Regions from separate parts of the Homo sapiens genome. Here regions 1, 2, 3 and 5 are each linked to region 4. The links are contacts of gene promoters, found by promoter capture Hi-C in blood cells and fetal thymus (Javierre and others, 2016). All regions are on one chromosome and are shown on one strand. The core of a region is centred on a gene start or on the middle of the fragment in contact, and the rest is flanking DNA. Distances in the headings are between cores, read along the strand shown. Region 1 overlaps HMG20A (high mobility group 20A). Region 2 has its middle 80 kb from the start of HMG20A. Region 3 overlaps PEAK1 (pseudopodium enriched atypical kinase 1). Region 4 holds the start of PSTPIP1 (proline-serine-threonine phosphatase interacting protein 1). Region 5 overlaps HMG20A (high mobility group 20A).

Region 1 (3,842 bases), core at 213-2,712, 460 kb after region 4:
AAAAAAAAAAAGCCAGTCAAGTGAGTTCCCTAAGGTATATACCTGGCCATTTGAATGTTTGCTCACTATGGTTAGTCTGTATGGTATCTAACAGATATTACAGTTTTCTTTTGGTAAAATGAACATTGACATTGGTGTGAGGTGATGTTAGCAGCCCAGGCTTTAATCTCGCCTTTGTATTGTATAATGTGAATTAAAACTTAAGTACACTTGAGTCAGGGTTATTCAGTAAAACATGTGGAATGGAATTTTGTGGTATTTATTAGAGCTATTCCACTTGTAAACACCTTATCTTGAAGGAACTGAAAAGAGGTTGCAAGCATTCCTGCAGTAGAATAAAGTGCTTATGATGGTTGAGTGAGAAGTTCCTCTCTACCTTCCATGCTCTACCTACTGTAATGGGTAATATTTGTACAGAGATGTGTTTTTCCCATCAAGCTGTTTATGGAACTTGGCCTGCTAAATAATAAACTTAGAAGTGAGAATAAGTAAGAATAAGGAATAAAACATCAGTGTTATCTTTTGGAAATAAATCACTCCATTGAACATGGAGAATGTGGTCCTCGTGTCATCGGCATTTTCTTCATATTTCCACCTCAGTGGAGTGATCCTGGCTCTGCTTTGCCGCTGTGCTTTCCTTTTAATTGCTGTTTCACCAGGTCTCCTTAGCAGCAGCAGCGCCTGAAATAACTCCTGAGGAAGCTCCTAAGTGAATTCTCATAATTTGCTTCTCAATTCTCCCAATTGATTGAGGCACTCTTTCTTGAGTGCTTTGCAGTTCTGTGTAAGTGGCTGATGTTTGGGGTCACTGCTGAATGTTTTGTTTGAATATCCCTTTCATGATGAAGGGAAGACTGCTGCTTTTAACTACATGGGGTGATGCCCTTTGTGGTAAGCCTTGAAAGGCAAAAATCGTTTTTCATAGTGATATGCCAAATGAAATTATTCTCTTTGTCACTTTGTCCTTTTATCCTTTCAGTCTGATAACCTCAGTTCTTGTGATTTGTTTGTTTTCTTCAATTAAGCTTAGTTGTTTCCTGTACCCAGGTGCATGCTATTTCTGCTCTTGGTTATGATGGTGTGTGGAGCATATTTCTGACCTGGAAGTGTGGTTTCTTTGACTGAGAGCCACATCAGCATGCCTTCCATCCTCTACTTCCTTTGCATTATTTCCTTTTGGAGGGCTCAGTTTGCCATCATTTAATCTATAGATGATTCATCTGGGACTGAGAACTGGTAATGCTGTAATAACAATATCTTTCTTTATATAATACTCAATGCACTTACTACCTTAGATTTTCTCTGTTTATGGAGCACTTTCATTTTAATCTCTCACAATAACCCTTTGGGTTAAGTCAGCAATTTTGTCTTAGTCTAAGATGGTGAAATTGTAGCTCAAAGAGCTTAAATAGCTTGCTCAGAGTGGCAGTGCTTCTGAGTTACCCTGCTTAACAATTTCTACAGGAAATGAATACTTTTGAAGATACTCTGGATAAATAAAAAGGAATTTTCCAAACCACATCCCATTTGTTAAAACCTAACTTGTTTTCAGTCTGGTCAGTTGATAAGACCAAGGTTAAAAGGCCCATTTACCATACAGTTTAAATTGATGTGTCCAAGTCAAGAAAATAAATATTTAGGTCAGTTTTTATTCTGTTGCTTATATGATAAAGTTCAAGAAGGCTGGCTCTTAAATTAGTGGAACTTGAAATGGAAGTAATTAAGCCATTAATTTTTTTTTATTCTCTTTTCCTTTCAGAGAGATGGAAAACTTGATGACTAGCTCCACCCTACCGCCCCTTTTTGCAGATGAAGACGGTTCCAAGGAGAGTAATGATCTGGCTACCACTGGGTAAGCAGCTGCTTTAGGACACTGGACTTCTCCATAGGCCTCAAAACAAAGCTTCTAGCAAAGTAAGAGGTCCTAAAGAGGCAGTTTTATATCATAAGAATAGACGGTGCACTTGTTTCACTTTGCAAAGAGAGTGACAGCCATCATAAACCACTTTGTAATCTGCATTCAATTATCTTTTGCAGTGCTCTGGTTTTTGTGAACTGGTACAACAATATGTGGAATCTAGCAAACACTGGTGACTCCAGTTAAGAAAATTATATAGTCACCATTAAGGAAATACCTGCCACAGAGCTAGCTCTAAAAAACAAATGCATTTTTTCTGTTCAAATTACCACAGATATTAAAATAGTTTTTTCCCAAAGATCAGATTTTTTAATGTGGTTCTTTATTCAAGATGCTTAGTAACTTTAGCTGACTTCTGTTCCTTTCCCCATCCCACCCCCTTCTCCTTTCTGTGGGATCTTTTGACAAATATTTAAAGAGATATAGAAAAGGGTTAATAACAGTAGTCCACCTCTTCCCTTGAAAATCTCTGTTCCACTTGAATTTTTATCTTTTCTAGATGTTTAGAAGTTATTTGGCAAAGAGAAAGTGTGTTCACTAATAGACTGAAGTGCTAGCTAATCCCTAAGATGAATTATTTTAATATTCTTTAGAGCTGTTTAAAAAATAGGCTATACTTTGTAATTCTGTTTCCTTCCCTCACATTTATGTCTCACCTCGTTGATATCCGCCTTTGACCTCACTACTCAGATGAAAGTGTTCTCCAAGACTTTTCTAAAGGCTGCTTAGTTACTATATTCATTCAGTAAAAACTTTCTGAGTATCTGCTATGTGTCATTGTTCCAGGCATTAGATAGAAAGCATTGATCAAAATAGATAAAAATCATAGGCCTTTTAAAGTTCAAATTCTACTTGTTGAGTCAGACAATAAACAGGATAAATAAGCAAAACATATACTATGTTGATAAGAACTATAGTTTAAAAAAAGAAAAAAGTGGAGAAAAGGGATAGGAAGGGTTTGGGGATGCAGTTTTAGACAGGATGGGCCAGAAAGTGTTTAATGAGAAAGTGACTTCAATAAAGACCTGAAGGAAATAAGGCAACTGGCATGCAGTTTTCTGGGGAAGATTATCCTAGACAGAGGGAGCAGTAGGTGCAAAAGCCCTGAGGCAGGAGAGTTTCCATCTTATCGAAATAGCCAGGAGGACAGTGTGACTAGAGCAGCACATAGCAGCAGGAGAGGCAGTAGAGGACTACATCAGTCCTTCTCAAACATATGAATTGCCAAGAGAGCTGATGAAAATGCAGATTCTGATTTAGAAAATCTTAGGACCAGAGATTCTACATTTCTAACAAGCTCCCAGAGAATGCCAGTTCTGCTGGTATGAGGCCCATACTTTGGGTAAGAAGAGACTAGATCATAGGGATCAAAATATTTAGAGATCAAAATAAACCCTTTAACTTTTACTCTGAAGTGGGATAACATTGGAGGGTTTCACACAGAATTATATGATCTGACTTACGGTTTTATAAGATCCCTCTGACTGTTGTATTGAGAATAGAGTGAAGGGAGCAGGGGCTGGAACAAGGAGACCAGTTAGGGAGGCTCTTAAAATAATTCAGGAGACAGATGATAGCCTGAAGAACCATCATCTGGTGACTTTCACAAGAGTGTTTTTGGTGGAATAGTGGGGGTAAAAACCTCATTGGAGTGTGTTTCAAAGATAATGGGAATGAGGGGTAGTGAGAAGTATAGAATTCTAGATATATTTGAAGGTATACCAAACAGAATTTGCCTGAAAGAAAGGATGAGCACAATGTAAGAAGGGAGAAAAAAAGCAGTCAAAGGCAACTCAAAAGTTTTGGCCAAAGCAACTGGAGGGATGGAGTTGCCATTAGCTTAGATGGGGAAAACTGAACAAGTGTGGGAGGGAATTGTAGGAGCTCAGTTTTGGAAATTTTACATTAAAGATGCTTATTAGAT
Region 2 (3,775 bases), core at 649-3,148, 510 kb after region 4:
CACATCCGGTTCTGCCGCTTGTTAGCACTGGTGCAGCCTGAAGCAGGTCTCCTCAGCTCCTGGAGACATTTTTCACATCTGTGAAATGAAGATTTTAATCTGCCCCATGTATCTCAAAAGGCATACAACAATCTCATAGTGGAAAAACATTTTCCTGGGTTCTACAAAGACACCGTCCTATTATTCCCAACTGGGCCACTTCAGCATCACCTCGGAAGCCACTTAACCCCTTCGGATCTCCATCTCTCCACTAAAACCTTGGGGATTTGAATAGGACTATAAAATCCACTAATCAGTCTGAATCTTCACCATGCTGTTGTGATTTTTTTATAAGTCCATTATTCCTTCCACCTTTATTGGCTGGCATTCTACTCTTGGGAAGACTTTCTTGTCTCCCCACTTACTTATTCTCAGGGCCTGGCCCTAGAAGGTGCTGAAGACTTCATATAGGACTGGATGACCCCTTCTAGCTCTCAATCTCCAAGTCTCCAGGAAAATAAATGAAGCACATACTATTCTAATACATTCTACCATTCTGTGGGAACTGTGCCTTCCGTTATTCCCACCTGATCTAAAATCCCGACACTTAGGATGCTCAAACATCATCTGGACCTTGGCATTCCTCCTCCAGTGCCAGGCCTTCCCTCCTGCATAAAACAGCTCAGAGCTGAGTCGCCCTTGCTGGAGTTCCTGATCTCTCTTTCCAGCTCCCTCAGGGCTTCTCCATCTGGCATCCTGCAGAATCCTCAACTCAATTTGTCCAAAATTAAATATGTATTCTTCCCAAACCCACATTTTCTCTAATACCTGTCAGCTCAGTTAAAAACTCCACTGCTCTCTGAAGCTGGAGAGCCTGGAATCCTACACGCCTCTCCCCAGCTCTTTACCCTGCTCCCAGCCCTCCACATCTCATTCACAGAATGCTCCCCCCCACACACACACACAGAGCCCTGGAATCCCCCTAACAGCTGGCCCTTCTCAACACCTCCAGGACAGGCCTTTGTGGGGGTCTTCAGCTTTCAGCTCTCCTGGGGCTCTCCTAATAGCCCATTGTTTTGTTTTTCCTCTTTTTTGCTATTAACTAGTTCTATAATAGCCTTCTAACTAGACTTAGTATAGCCAGTCTCATTTGTCCCCCTCTTAACTCCCCTCCACCAGTTCGTCCTGCACACCACTACAAAAGCAACTTTTCTAAAATGCAAGATTAGTCTTGCAAATATCTTTTTCTTTTCTTTTTTTTTTTTTGAGACAGGGTCTCACTCTGTCGCCCAGCCTGGAGTGCAGCAGCACGATCCTGGCTCACTGCAACCTCCGCCTCCCAGGTTCAAGGGATTCTCCTGCCTCAGCCCTCCCTAATAGCTGGGACTACAGGGGCACACCACCATGCCCAGCTAATTTTTGTATTTTTAGTAGAGACAGGGTTTCACCATGTTGGCCACGCTGGTCTTGAACTCCTGACCTCAAATGATCCACCCGCCTCGGCCTCCCAAAGTGCTGGGATTACAAGCGTGAGCCACTGCGCCCAGCCATATCACTCTATTTTAAATGAGATCATAGTTGTGGTAGTTGCTTTTGTTTTTAAGCCTTACAAAAATTCTATACGATAAGAATTATTAGCATGAAACTAAGATGAAACTAAGACTTAGCTAGGTTAAAGGACCTAAAGCCACATAGCTATTACACCTTGCAGAACCAGAATTTGAACTCAGGTCTGCTTTGTACTGCAAAACCCATGTTCGAAAGTATTTAAGGTACCTGGCACAGAGCAGGTGGACCAATGTTATATTCTTTATATTCCCCCTTTTCTATAAACTTCAGTCTCTTCAGCAGGGTGCAAGGGCCTATCCCATAGTGGGTGGCGTATGTCTCCAAATGCATCTCCTGTTACTGTGTGGCCCATTATCACCACTACCCATTAGGCAACATCAGACCACTCGCTGTTCCCCAAACCCTCCCTGTTCTTTTTTTTTTTTTTGAGACAAAGTCCAGCTCTTGTGCTCTTGTCTCCCAGGCTGGAGTGCAATGACACGATCTTGGCTCACTGCAACCTCCGCCTCCCGAGTTCAAGCGGTTCTCCTGCCTCAGCCTCCCAAGTAGCTGGGATTACAGGTGCCTACCACCATGACCGGCTAATTTTTATATTTTTAGTAGAGACAGGGTTTCACCATGTTGGCCAGGCTGGTCTTGAACTCCTGACCTCAGGGGATCCACCTGCCTTGGCCTCCCAAAGTGCTGGGATTACAGGCATGAGCCACCGCGCCTGGCCCTCCCTGTTCTTTTTTAAACTTTCTTTTTGAAATCCTCTTTCCTACTGCTTGGCAAGGCTTTTCTTACCTTGTCCTTCCTGCTCTGCAAGCCCAGATCAGATAGCACCCATTCTGTGATGCTTTTCCTGATCCCCAAACTCAGAATTCACGGCTCCAGCATCCCTCTTGCCAGCACCACTTGTTACGTATGCCTATTCTGATACTGATCATATTGGTGTGTGGCTATTCAGTCCTGTCTCTTCTCATCTTTGTATCTCCAAACCTGGCACTGTGCCTGGGACAAAGTAAGCACTCAGTAGTAAGTCTGTTGAGTTTAGTTCAGTCCTGCATCCTTCCCTATGACTAATGCTTCATTTCATCTGTCTTGCAAAGGTTAGAATGTCTCTGAAGACTTGTTTGCATCACCTCCACTCTCTCTGATTTCCACACCCACCACCCCATTGAAGTTGCTCCTGGCAACTTCTTGAGAGATCTCCTCATTACCAGAACACTCTCTTGTCCTCAGCCTCCAAAAGTTGCAGCAGCACTGGGCATGATTTCCTCCCTTCTTTTAAGTGACTCCTCTCCCTCGGCTTCTGCCATCACAGTCTCCTGCTTTCTTTTGCCTCTCAGGCTCTCTTGGGACTCCATCTGAGCCCTGGAAGTAGAGAACCTCAGAGCTCCGACCTGGGTTGCATTCTCTTCCCTCTACATTCCTTCCTGAAGAGACTTGTCTATTCCCATCATTTAAAGCAGGACCACTATCTTCAGCTCTCAGCTCTAGATTCAGATATGTGACAGCTATTTGACATCTCACTTAGATCATCCTTAGGTACTTTGGGCTTGAAAGCCTAACAATTGACTCCCAGGTGTACCCCCAGACCCTTCCTCCTTCAGTCTTTCTCTGTTCACTAAAAGGCAACATAACGAAGGATCCCCTTCTTGGGATGTTGGGAGCCACTCTCTAGGAGGGAAGGTGCCTTAGAAGAGGGGGCAAATCTGGGGATATCTGAATATCATGCATTCCTACCTCTGACTTAACCTTGGAGAAACACCAGATGCCTTAACCATGTATTCAATGCCTGGCATGATCTGGCCCCAGCATCCCTTTCCAGGCCCAGCTTTCATCTCGCCCCTAGATCAGAAATGGGTGAAGTATGGTCCATGAGCCAAATCTGGCCCATATGTTTCTCTACCGCCTGTAGGCAAAGAATAATTTTTTATATTTTTAAGTAGTTGAAAAAAATCAAAAGAAGAATATTTGGTGACACATGAAAATTACATAAAATTCAAATATCAGTGTCTATAAATAAAGTTGTATGAAATACGGCCATGCTGGTTTATTTACTTATTATCTGTCTCTGCTTTCTAGCTACAAAGGCAGAGCTGAGTCGTTGGAACAGACTTATAACCTACAAAGCCTAAAATATTTACTATCTGGCCTTATACTGAAAAAATTTGCCAAGCCCTGCTCTAAGCCAGTCCCTTGTTCCCTAAACACACCTTGCAAACTTCTAGTTTGGCACACA
Region 3 (3,749 bases), core at 145-2,644, 410 kb after region 4:
CATACATGCATAGATACACATATATACATATATACACATATATACACACACATATATACATATATACACATATATACATATAGACACATGTATACACATATATACATACACACACACACACACACACACACACACACACACCCTGGAATACTACTCAGCCATAAAAAAGAACAAAATAATGGCAGTGGCAGCAACCTGGATGGAATTGGAGACCATTATTCTAAGTGAAGTAACTCAGGAATGGAAAACCTGAGAACTTACAAGTTTTCACTTCTAAGTGGGAGCTAAGCTATGAGGATGCATAGGCATAAGAATGATAAAATGGACTTTGGGGACACAGGGGGAAGGGTGGGAGGGGGGTGAGGGGTACACATGGGGTACAGCGTACACTGCTTGGCGATGGGTGCACCAAAAATCTCAGAAATCACCACTAAAGAACTTATCTGTGTAACCAACCACCACCTGTTCCCTGAAAACCTATGAAATAAAAATTTAAAAAAAAAAACAGTCTAGGAATACTGCTGCAGAAACAGTTTTTCAAATGAAGTAGAGAACTGGCATTAGAAGATATTTTCTACTGTTTCTCCAATGCCTTAACTCTTCTTTCACACAAACCTCCACAATTAAAAAACTACTTCATACTCAAATAAAATCTACAAATATTGTAGCACGCCTAGAAAGAAGGCAGTTTTTCAGCATTTGAAATATTCAACTAATTATTCCAAAATATTTAAGAATTGAAGCAGGATGTGATGGCTCATGCCTGCAATCACAGCACTTTGGGAGGCTGAGGCGGGAGGATCACCTGAGCCCAGGAGTTTGCAATCATCCTGGGCAACACAGGGAAACTGTCTCCAAAAAATAATTTTAAAAATTAGCCGGATGTGGTGGCATGCCCCTGTGGTCCCAGTTACTCAGGAGGCTTAGGTGGGAGGATCGTTTGAGCCCGGGAGGTCAAGTCTGCAGTGAGCCATGATCATGCCACTGCACTCCAGCCTAAGTAACGGAGTGAGACCCCATCTCAAAAACAAACAAACACAAAAATATTTAAGAGTGGTACCATGGCATCTTCCCTTGCGATAACAAAACTGAATCTACTTTGAAAATTAAGAGGGGACCCTAACTTTAAACAATAAAAGTGCTCCTGTCAATGTGGGTGAAAGTATAAATGTACTGGGAAAATTAAAATCTTTATTTTTAAATGGAATATTTCTATCATCTTTTATATTATTTAGCACACACATGATACTATGCTTCAGGCATTATTTTAAGTACTTTTCAAATATGAGCTCATTAAAAACCCTCTGAGGTTGATGCTATCACTTCCCCCATTTTACACATAAGAAAACTAAGGCACCAGGAAAGAAAGTGATTTTCCCAAGTGGTAAAGATGAGATTCAGCTCCAGGCAGTCTGGGTCCCAAATCCATGTTCTTAACCACAATGTTGCTTACTCTCAGAAAGTAACATGCTCATGAAAGCCCAGTGTTTGACGCATAGTTAAGCATTTAATAAAAATCTGTTCAACAAATAAAAGAAAAAATGGAGATGGCAAAAAGCAGAAAACCCATTACTCACTGTCTCAACATATCATTATGAGTATAGTGGTATACTTTCTGTCAGTGTTTTTTCTTGTTCACAGAGGGATTTGTTTTCCTTTAACACTCAGCATATGCAATTTTGAGAAAATAAAAAACCTTAAGATACTAGCCTCTTAGCATTTTTAGAATAACAGTTAAAAACTGAACACTTGTATATATGCATGACATATATTCTAATTTCACCTCACAACCCCATAAAGTAAGTACAAGTATTATCCTTATTTTACAAATGAGGAAACTGAAGCACAGTTAAGAAACTAACATAAAGTCACATGGCCAGGAAGTGGCTGAGCTGGTAAATTCAAATCCAGGCAGTGTGACTTCTGAACTAGAATTCTTGACTATTCTTGGAGGGCAGGTTATGAGCTACTTGAAAGACAGTAATCGTGGTTTTTTTGTTTTGTTTTGTTTTTTGGTGTGTGTGTGTGTTTTTTTTTTTTTTAGACAGAGTTTCGCTCTTTTTGCCCAGGCTGGAGTGCAATGGCACGATCTTGGCTCACCATGATCTCGGCTCACTGGAACCTCTGCCTCCCAGGTTCAAGTTATTCTCCTGCCTCAGCCTCCTGAGTAGCTCCTCAGCCTCCCAAGTGATTCTCCTACCTCAGCCTCCCGGGATTACAGGCATGCGCCACCACGCCCAGCTAATTTTGTATTTTTAGTACAGATGGGCTTTCTCCATGTGGGTCAGGCTGGTCTCGAACTCTCGACCTCAGGTGATCTGCCTGCCTTGGCCTCCCAAAATGCTGGGATTACAGGTGTGAGCCATCGCACCCGTCTGTGATCATGTTTTTACAAAGTGGTATGATTTGTTTGGCTTGGCCTAAAATGAGGATGTTACCTTACAGATTTATTTTGTTTTACACTAACTCTGACTTAAACAATGAAAATTTTTAATATCTTCAGCTTTCTTGAACAAGCTAAATAAATCTTCATGTCTTAAATTTTATAAGGGTAAAGTACCTTATTGAAATCTTTCATTCAACAAATATTTGAATATCCACTACTTGTTAGGAACTGTGCTAATAAGATACAGTCTTTGCACTCAATGCATTGGCTCTTTCCACTCAGCATATAAATATGCTCAGATTTCTCACAACTAATAAATACAACACACTGGTCCATAAACCTGGATAATAGCTTTGTCGACTATTCGGAGGTAGAAATAAGAATGGAATCCTGCAATTACCTGCCCCCTATCCTACAAAGTAGATACACCTGTTATTTTTCTTGTAGTTCCTGAAGAGTGACTGACACTTAAATAATTACTAGATAGGTGCTATTTGCCTGCCTCATGCCATACTACCACCTCTTATCAGCTGGCAATGAAAGCCTACCTATTTTTAATGCAAAGGGGTTGAAATTAAAATGTTTTACTAAAACTTTGGTTTACCAGGCTACATGTTGTAATTATTTTTAAAATTCTAAAATTGTTATTTTGGGTTTGACTTTAATAACCAGATGATAAATGTGAATGTCTAAGACCACATGTGAAAGAAATAGTTAAAAAAAAAAAAAGGTGGGGCAAATTCACGGCAGATGGTAAGGCCAACCCTGCTTGATTTACAACCCTGCTTGTAAATGGAAACATTTGATTGTATGCAGTCTGAAGTTAAATCCTATTGATTGTGAAAAGGTAGCAGAGAGCCAAAAATTAAAAAGTCGAGGGCAGCAGAAACACTCCTCATCAGTTCACTGAGTGGCTTAATTGATAGCCAATGACTACAGGCACAATTAACAACCCAAGACCTAATAATGGAAAGGAAGTAAGAACAGAAACAACCTCCGAAACTAATGTTAACATATGGAGAAACTTCTACTGGTTGATAATTACTAGTGTGTACATAAAGCCTTGACAAGTTTCTTGACGCACACATGCTTACATCGGTGTTTAAATATAGCTGACACATATTTGAGTTCATAGTTTCTCATGTCCACATTCTCTAATAAGCTTCATTAGTACTTCATACCTTTTTTTTTAAATACAGTCTTGCGATGTCACCTAGGCTAGAGAGCAGTGGTGCGATCATAGCTCACTGCAGCCTTGAACTTCTGGACTCAAGTAATCCTCCTGCCTCAGCCACTTAAGTAGCTAAAACAGGCATGGGCCAGCACACCCAGCTAATACTTTTTTACTTTTTGTAAAGATGGG
Region 4 (3,805 bases), core at 115-2,614:
GCTATCAGAGGTGGTGGTGCCATTGGGAGGTGAGGTGCAGCCTGGCTCACTCTATGGCCTACAAAGTTCAAGGGGATTTTTACACTATTAATTGTCTTCAGCTGCAAGTAACAAAAAACCTGACTGGGGCGCCTTACAGATTAAAGATTAGCTCAAATCCAAGGTTTCTGGAGGTGAGGGCCTTCTGGGGGCAGTCCCATTGCTCTGCAATCCTCCCCAAAGTGTTTCCTCTTGGGTGGCTATTTCAGAGCCTGGGTGTGCCCCCTCTCTCTAAACCCTGGGCATGCATAATGGGCACTTGGGAGCTCAACTATTTCATCTGCAGCAGCTCTCATCTTATCACCCCGTCAGCTGTAAGGCAGACATCAGTGAGGGTGGTGATTTGCGGACAATCCCTGACTCACCCCATTTTGCCAGCCTGCCCTGGGCTCAGGACTTCCTGCTGCATCTTCTGCTGAGCCGGCAGGGCGTGGCGTCTCAGGGCTGGGGCTGGGGCTCTAGTCCAGGGCTCTTCCTAAGGTGGTACCACACAGTGCCCCCAGCACCTGCCCACCAAACTGGAAATTCCAGAAATATTCTCGACACCGTCTACTTTCCAAAGACTGGGTGTGGCAGATGAGGAAGCTGAGGCTCAGCGAGTTGGGGGGTCTATTAAGGTCCCTCAGCCCCTGAAAGGTGGGGTCAAAATTAAACAAAAACTGGGCCTCAGACTGGGTTTCCAAACACCCCACTCTGTGCCTTGATAATCCTGTTTCTCTCTCCATCCATTCCCATTCACTGAGCCGGAAGCCTCCATCTTCAGAAGGGGGTTCTCTGCCCCAAACAGCGTCTAATCTGGAGACTTGCGGTGGTGGCGGTGGTGGTGGTGGGGGCAGTGCCGGGGCCTCAGGCTGTTCTCCCTCATCTTGCTGCCTGCTCACCTTGCCTCTGTGTGCTCACAGCCCCCCAGAGCACAGCTGTGTCTGCTCCCAGACTATGGGCTCCTTGAGGGCAGGACCTGGTTTGGGTCCCAGAGCAGCCAGGGTTTGATGAATGACAGATGCCCTAGACCTGGGTAAGCCCCTCCAGAATGACTTGCTAGTGCGGGGTGGGGAGTCTGGCATCTCTGGGCCCAGCCTGGAAGGGTGCTGGACTGGCTGGCGGGTGACACACCTGGGGTTCCTGGGCCCCTCCTGGCCACACTGTCAGTGGGCCTCAAGCTCCCTTAGCATATGGCCTCTGGAATAAAGTGAGCCCGCACCTCGGGAGGGGGCAAGCAGAGGCAGGAGCAGGATGGCAGGTGGCAGGCGGGGCTGCACAGGGGAGCACAGCAACTCCACTTCCTGTGGGCGAGGGCCCTGTGCCTGCCCCGGGGGAGGTTGCACAAACCTTCCTGCGCAGGCCTCGGGCTGCCTGCCTGCCTGCCTGCCTGGCCCGGCCCGAGCTCCAGCCTGCCTCTTCCACTGGCCACTGCCTCCCACCCAGGGCTGGCATCCCTGCTCCCTGCCCTGGGTCCCAGACTGTGTCCTCCATCACCGCAGGGTCGGTGAGGGGCTGGGCTGGACACCAGGGCCCGCCCTCCCATCACTGAGCTCCACTCCTTCCTCATTTTGCTGCTGATTCTAGCCCCAAACAAAACAGGTTGAGCTTTTTCCTCCCCTCAGAAGCTCCTCTCTGGCTCGTGGCTGCCTTCTGAGTGTTGCAGACGGCGCCGGCCGGGAAGGGGGGCCTGGGCCAGCCCTGCCAGGACTGGGACGCTGCTGCTGGCGCCTGGCCCTCCATCAGGCCAGCCTGTGGCAGGAGAGTGAGCTTTGCCGCGGCAGACGCCTGAGGATGATGCCCCAGCTGCAGTTCAAAGATGCCTTTTGGGTGAGTGAGGATGGTTGGGGGCACTGAACAAGTGGAGGGGGCAGAGCTAGGCTGAAATCTCCATGCAGGTGATGGGATGCGGCTCCGAGAGGGGAGCTTTCTCATAAAATAGTGGTTGATTCTTGGTCTTAATTGTCATGGAGGTGGCCCAGGCCCCCACCCCTTCTGGACTGGAACGCAAGTGGACTCCGTGAATGAGCGTCCTCCTCTCTGCTGCCCCGTGTGTTTTCTCCTCTGGGAGACCTCTCCCCACAGCAGGAGCTCCTCAGAAGAGGGTAACACATGGGTGGGGGCTTGAGGAGGATGTGTGGGGCAGCAAAGGAGGGGTCACAGATTTAGAGACCAGACAAACTTGAGTTCAGGTCTTGGCTCTGTTACAGGCTGGGCAAGTCATTTCTGTCTCCAAGCCTCAGTCTCTCCATCTATATAATGGTGATAAAATAGAAATCAACACACCAACTAAAGCATTGGATCAGCAAGGGGATCCAAGGCACTAAAGCCCCCAGCACCTTGCCTCACTCCAAATGGTAATTCTGTTCCCCTCACCCAGCCCCTTGTCCCTTGCAGACCTTAGGGGTCCTTCAAGGAGGCAGCCAGGTGGGCAATGGCTTGCTTACTTTCTTAAATTCAACACGGGCTTAAATCAAGTCATTTCCCCCATGAAATAAGGGCGCCCAGCCAGTGGTAGAGGTAAAGTGGCTTGGCCCGGGCCACGTAGCCTGCAGCCCAGCTTGGACCCCTGGTCATCTCAGCACTTTTCCAGCTGTCCTTCAACTACCCCTCTGCCCCTCAGCTCTGGCTGTGCCCAGGGCTCTGGGGAAAAACTGAGACCTCTCTGGTTGGAGCTGGGGAATGTGGCTGTCCCGGGGTGCTGCCTCCAACCCCGAAGAGGACGCTCTGGCCCTCGGCTCAGCCGGCTGAGCCCCAGCCAACAGCCCTGCCCTCCCCGGGCCTTTTCCTGGGGCTGCAGCCAGGAGGATGAGAGCTATGGAGCCAGGCCTTCCTTCCCTTCCGGCCGGCTCCACTTGGGGCCTGTGGCCAGCGTGTGAGTGTTCTGCTTCCTCTGCTCTGACTGTACAGTAGGCAAAGGACCCCACGTGGGGAGGGCACCTTGTGCCTTTCTGGGCCTCAGTTTCCCCATCTCTACAAAGACAGGGTGGGCCCAGCCCAGAGAAGCCAATGGAGGCAGAGCTGCCTCAGCCCATCCGGAGGACCAGGCACCAGGATGCTCAGGGCCCAGGCTGGCAGCTGGAGCCCTGGGGGATGGGGGATGTGAGTCACCACCTAGCTGCCCTGCCTTGGTGTGCAAAGTTGGGGGAAGGGGTAGGGCCTGGAAACCCAGGCCACTCTGTAGCCCAGGGCAGGCCAGGACCCCTTGACTATTTTATCACTGAGACCTCTGTCCAGTCCTAGAGCCCCTGGGCCTGCCTTCCCTAGGGCAGAGCTGGGCAAGGAGCAGCCTCCATGGCAGGATCTGGGCACAGGTAGGGGTGGCGTATAAGGGAGCAGGGTATGGCAGCCGCAGCAGAAGCAAGCAGCCAGCCCCTGTGGAGCTTCCTGAGCGGCATCCTGCCCACACTCTGTGCTCGTCGCACCTCTGGGCTTCCTGGCCTCCAAGTGCCTTGTCTCCTCTGTGTCTGGCTCCCTGAGCCTGGGGCGGGCATATAGTTTCCCTAGGGAAGGCCAGAGCAGGAAGGGGAGAGAAGTAGCCAGTGGGAACCTCTCACACTGAGTCTGGGCCGATGCCCCGAAAGGTCACTGTAGGCATCACCTGCCCCAGGGCTCTGGATTCTAATACCTCTTCCTGATGCTCAGCCCATCCCAGTGCATAACAACTAACATTTGCTGAGCACGAAAGATGTGCCAGGCGCTGTTCTCAAGATGTATGCATATTCACTCATTCAATCCTTCAAACACATGCTACTGTTATCTCTCTTATTCAGATGAGGAAATTGAG
Region 5 (3,807 bases), core at 649-3,148, 480 kb after region 4:
GACTTGGGAGGCTGAGGCAGGAGAATTGCTTGAACCTGGGAGACAGAGGTTGCAGTGAGCTGAGATCGTGCCACTGTACTCCACCCTGGGCAACAGAGAGGGACTCCCTCTCAGAAAAAAAAAAAAAAAAAAAAAAAAAAGCTAGTGGTGACAAGAGTAGGAAAGATACATTCTGTCTAGCTTTAAACAATTGTTTATAGGAATGAAATCTAGGTATTATGTTTGCATGTTTTTCATGTTATAAAGGTCCTGGGATCTTAAGATTTCACTAGCAGTTTCTTCATTTCTCACTTCCTGCCATTTTACCACCTTTGTTATGGAAAATTTTGAACATTATGCCAACACACTTAAAATTAATATTCACAATGCTTTCAACTTCAAATTCATTTTAGAAACGACAGCCAAAGCATCTTGAGTTATTGACTTTATTCTTAAAGATCATTGTGGAATATATTTTGCAATGATCTTGTGAGGCTTTTTTATTTTTAATGGCTTATTGGTGAATTAATTTTAGGCTTTGTTATTCTTTTGTATCTCACATAATCGTTTGCTTTCTAATTTTTAGAGCCTGGTTATTTCTGATTTCTCGGTCTCATGTGTTTGTTTGTTTATTTTTCCTGTGTCTAAAGAAAATCTAAAAGACCCCAAAGATAGGCTGCCTCTCTTAAGTAAATAGAAGTACCAATGGAATATCATAATTATTGCTCATAGCAGTTACATTTCTGCTTAAAATTCTTATTGTCCACTCTGCAAATTTATATTGCATAATCTTATCTCAGGGAGCATTTTACATGCATAACCAACAAAAGTGACTGAAAAAAAACTACTCTTTCTCAATTCCCACTGCAATCACTTTCACAACTGTATACTGTTGACTATTCAAAACACAAGGCTAAGAAATGGCTTCAAATTCTCCATTAGGGAAATTTACGTAACTTTGTTTTAAGGTTTCTAATTGCACAGTAGTTGTATACCTGAGAGAAGTGAATACTTTACCTGCTTAAGCTCTGTGAAAGTTGGATTCCAATGAAAAGATGAATACATTTCCCTCACAGACTCACCTGGACTGATTCCTGCTCACCCTATTCTTTCTTTAAAGAAGACATGATCATTGTCTTCAGGCACTATTATTTAATTTATCTTCTATTAAGAATTAACTGTTTTGTTCCTCTTGATTCACAGAAAGAAACAGAGGTAAAGGAACGGTCTGTTTTTGACATCCCTATATTTACAGAGGAATTCTTGAACCATAGCAAAGGTGATTACTGAAGTTTCTTTTTGTGTTTCTCAGATTTTTGACAGGGGACTTAGTTCTCAGAAGAAATTCATTGCTCAAAAGCAATGGTAGTGTTATCCCTCCTTAGGACTACTCAAAGACCAGTGAAGGAAAGCTAGGGCATTGTTGTCAAAGCTTCTTTGGTCTCTGGATGAAAGGAAATAAATGCAAATCACAAATTCACTTGTCTTCAAACTCTTAGCCTGGAACCCCTTGCACAAATAAAAACTTACATGGGAGTCCAAAATATAAAATAAGTAAGAGCAAGTCTGATCCCATTGTGGTAAAGATGGGTACCTACAGCTGTGCTTGGCCAGTCTCCCAGGATCCCCCTGCAAAACCCCTCAGGCTTCTGATTGTACAATTTAAAAAGCAAAAACTAACAAACAAAAAAATACTGGGAATTGAAACTGTTTGTTGCAATCTTATGTATGGAATGTGACTAGCTTTAAGAATTAAAATAGCTCTGGGGAGTCAGGCGTTTCATTGCTGAAATTGCTATCTGGAATGCCATAATGAGAATAGGGAGATGAGGTGGGGTAGCTAAATTAGAGGCAGCTAAGCAGAACTTCCCTGTAAGAGTCATTGGGACTCCTCAGAGACTCCTTCTAGTGCTGCATGTGTTCTGTGGGATGTATGTCCTCAGCTCGGGAAGCAGAGCTCCGCCAGCTTCGCAAATCCAACATGGAGTTTGAGGAGAGGAATGCAGCCCTGCAAAAGCACGTGGAGAGCATGCGCACAGCAGTGGAGAAGCTGGAGGTGGATGTGATCCAGGAGCGGAGCCGCAACACAGTCTTACAGCAGCACCTGGAGACCCTGCGGCAGGTGCTGACCAGCAGCTTTGCCAGCATGCCCTTGCCTGGTAAGTCCTCCTGCCTGAGAACTGTCAGTGACAGGGGTGTGTGTGTTGTGTGGAGTGGGGTGCTGTTTATGTTAGTACTGGTGTGGAGAGATTGAAATCTCCTCCAGAGGAAAATTAATTAAACTACATTTTTTCTTCTCTGGATATAATAGAATGTCAGTATTGGCTAAAATCGTCCAATGTTTCAGGCTCTCTGGTCATTCAAATTTTTGTCCATTTATATTTTAATATCTATTTTCCCCTCTTTTAAGCTTAATTTGCTATTCAGAACACTGGAAACTGAGTAGTAAATCTTGAGAGTGTTTCTTCTTATGTATGTTTGTTTGCTTTTTAGTTGTTTTTGTTTTAACGGGAAGGAAGGGAGAATGAACACTGGTATTTCTTATATACTCTTTCATTTTGAAGATAGTCATAGCAGAAAGCTGAGCGAGTCTAACCTTCTGTTACATGCAGCTGCTCATATATACTATACAGCAATTATATAGCCCATCTGTTTATTTAGAGTATGTGGACTAATTTCATTTCTTTGAGATCTAAAAGTCTCTCCTCTAAAATTAAAAGCATGTCTGTGGAGCAGACCACATTAGAATCACTGTTTCTTTGAAATTGTGTTTTATGGTACAACTGAATAGGGAGGATTTTCTTACTTTCTTCTTATCTCACTTCAGGAAGTGGAGAGACACCTACAGTGGACACCATTGACTCATATATGAACAGACTGCACAGTATTATTTTAGCTAATCCCCAAGACAATGAAAACTTCATAGCTACAGTTCGAGAAGTTGTGAACAGACTCGATCGTTAGGGAATGGTGAGTGCTCACTGATAAATATTTATATGCCAGCACATCATCAAAAATAAGATGTCATCAGACTTTATCAATACTACTAAAACCCTGGGATTACATTGGATGAACAAGTTGGAGACTTGGTTAAGATTCCTGTTGCATGGTTGTTAAATGTAGTAAATAATATTAGAAAAGAGAATCACTGTAGTCCCAGCTACTTGGGAGGCTGAGGTGGGAGGATTGCTTGAGCCCAGCAGTTCAAGTCCAGAGAGATCCTGTCTCTAAAAATAAAAGAAAACAGACTCAAGACAGTTTTTTCTTATGCTTGCTTCAGAATGGTTTAATGGGAAAAGCATGGTTTTTGTGGCTTGACCTCATTTCTAGCTTTGTCACTTATTAGCTGTATTCTTGGGCATTAGTTTCCCAAAAGGTTTTGAAAAGTGAGTGGGAAACTTAGAAGAAATCATCCCCAAAACAGCACTCAGAACAAAATAAATATAACTTAATTTTTAATCTTCCTTTTCTCTGGAAAATACTAATGATAATTTAGAAGTAGTCAGTGAGACATTGTATGTATGTGAGCCTACATAAGTAGGAAGCTTTTATATTCACCACTCAATAACACAGTGACTGTTGTCTGTTAAATGTTGATGTGGACTCACCATACAAACAGGTAACTCCCTGGTTTTGATAGATTAAAAAATAAACTCTTCAGCCAGGTGCAATGGCTCACACCTGTAAGCCTAGCAGTTTGGGAGGTCAAGGCAGGCAGATCGCTGGAGTCCAGGTTCAAGACCAGTCTGGGCAACATGACAAAACCCCGTATCTACAAAAAATACAAAAAATTAGCCAGGCATGGTGGTATGCGCTTGTGGTCCCAGC

What was found. The method cuts DNA at HindIII sites, captures the fragments that hold promoters and counts their contacts. A CHiCAGO score of 5 or more calls a contact.
Region 1: a fragment that was not itself captured here is called in contact with the fragment with the promoter of PSTPIP1 in region 4 in 7 of 17 cell types (naive CD4 T cells, total CD8 T cells, total CD4 T cells and 4 more); the score reaches 9.9 in naive CD4 T cells.
Region 2: a fragment that was not itself captured here is called in contact with the fragment with the promoter of PSTPIP1 in region 4 in 8 of 17 cell types (monocytes, naive CD4 T cells, total CD4 T cells and 5 more); the score reaches 8.3 in monocytes.
Region 3: a fragment that was not itself captured here is called in contact with the fragment with the promoter of PSTPIP1 in region 4 in 1 of 17 cell types (monocytes); the score reaches 5.2 in monocytes.
Region 5: a fragment that was not itself captured here is called in contact with the fragment with the promoter of PSTPIP1 in region 4 in 7 of 17 cell types (naive CD8 T cells, naive CD4 T cells, naive B cells and 4 more); the score reaches 8.8 in naive CD8 T cells.

What each region holds. Positions count from the first base shown.
Region 1 is chr15:77,456,645-77,460,486 of GRCh38, forward strand. It overlaps HMG20A (high mobility group 20A), which reads left to right. Exons shown (of 10, transcript NM_001304504.2): 2 at 1,760-1,852. The coding sequence starts at 1,764. Among named protein-coding and RNA genes, the nearest start is that of HMG20A, 38 kb to the left of the region's middle. The HindIII fragment of the contact is 878 bases long and covers 1,024-1,901 here.
Region 2 is chr15:77,498,603-77,502,377 of GRCh38, forward strand. It overlaps a transcript of HMG20A not described here. Among named protein-coding and RNA genes, the nearest start is that of HMG20A, 80 kb to the left of the region's middle. The HindIII fragment of the contact is 5,925 bases long and covers 1-3,775 here.
Region 3 is chr15:77,408,048-77,411,796 of GRCh38, forward strand. All of the region lies in intron 1 of PEAK1 (pseudopodium enriched atypical kinase 1), which reads right to left. Among named protein-coding and RNA genes, the nearest start is that of PEAK1, 10 kb to the right of the region's middle. The HindIII fragment of the contact is 4,304 bases long and covers 1-3,546 here.
Region 4 is chr15:76,993,762-76,997,566 of GRCh38, forward strand. PSTPIP1 (proline-serine-threonine phosphatase interacting protein 1) reads left to right here and starts at 1,365. Exons shown (of 15, transcript NM_003978.5): 1 at 1,365-1,848. The coding sequence starts at 1,813. RefSeq lists an enhancer at 1,070-1,119 and a silencer at 1,360-1,549. The HindIII fragment of the contact is 6,151 bases long and covers 1-3,805 here.
Region 5 is chr15:77,476,373-77,480,179 of GRCh38, forward strand. It overlaps HMG20A (high mobility group 20A), which reads left to right. Exons shown (of 10, transcript NM_001304504.2): 7 at 1,183-1,258; 8 at 1,923-2,138; 9 at 2,807-2,949. The coding sequence ends at 2,943. Among named protein-coding and RNA genes, the nearest start is that of HMG20A, 57 kb to the left of the region's middle. The HindIII fragment of the contact is 978 bases long and covers 1,410-2,387 here.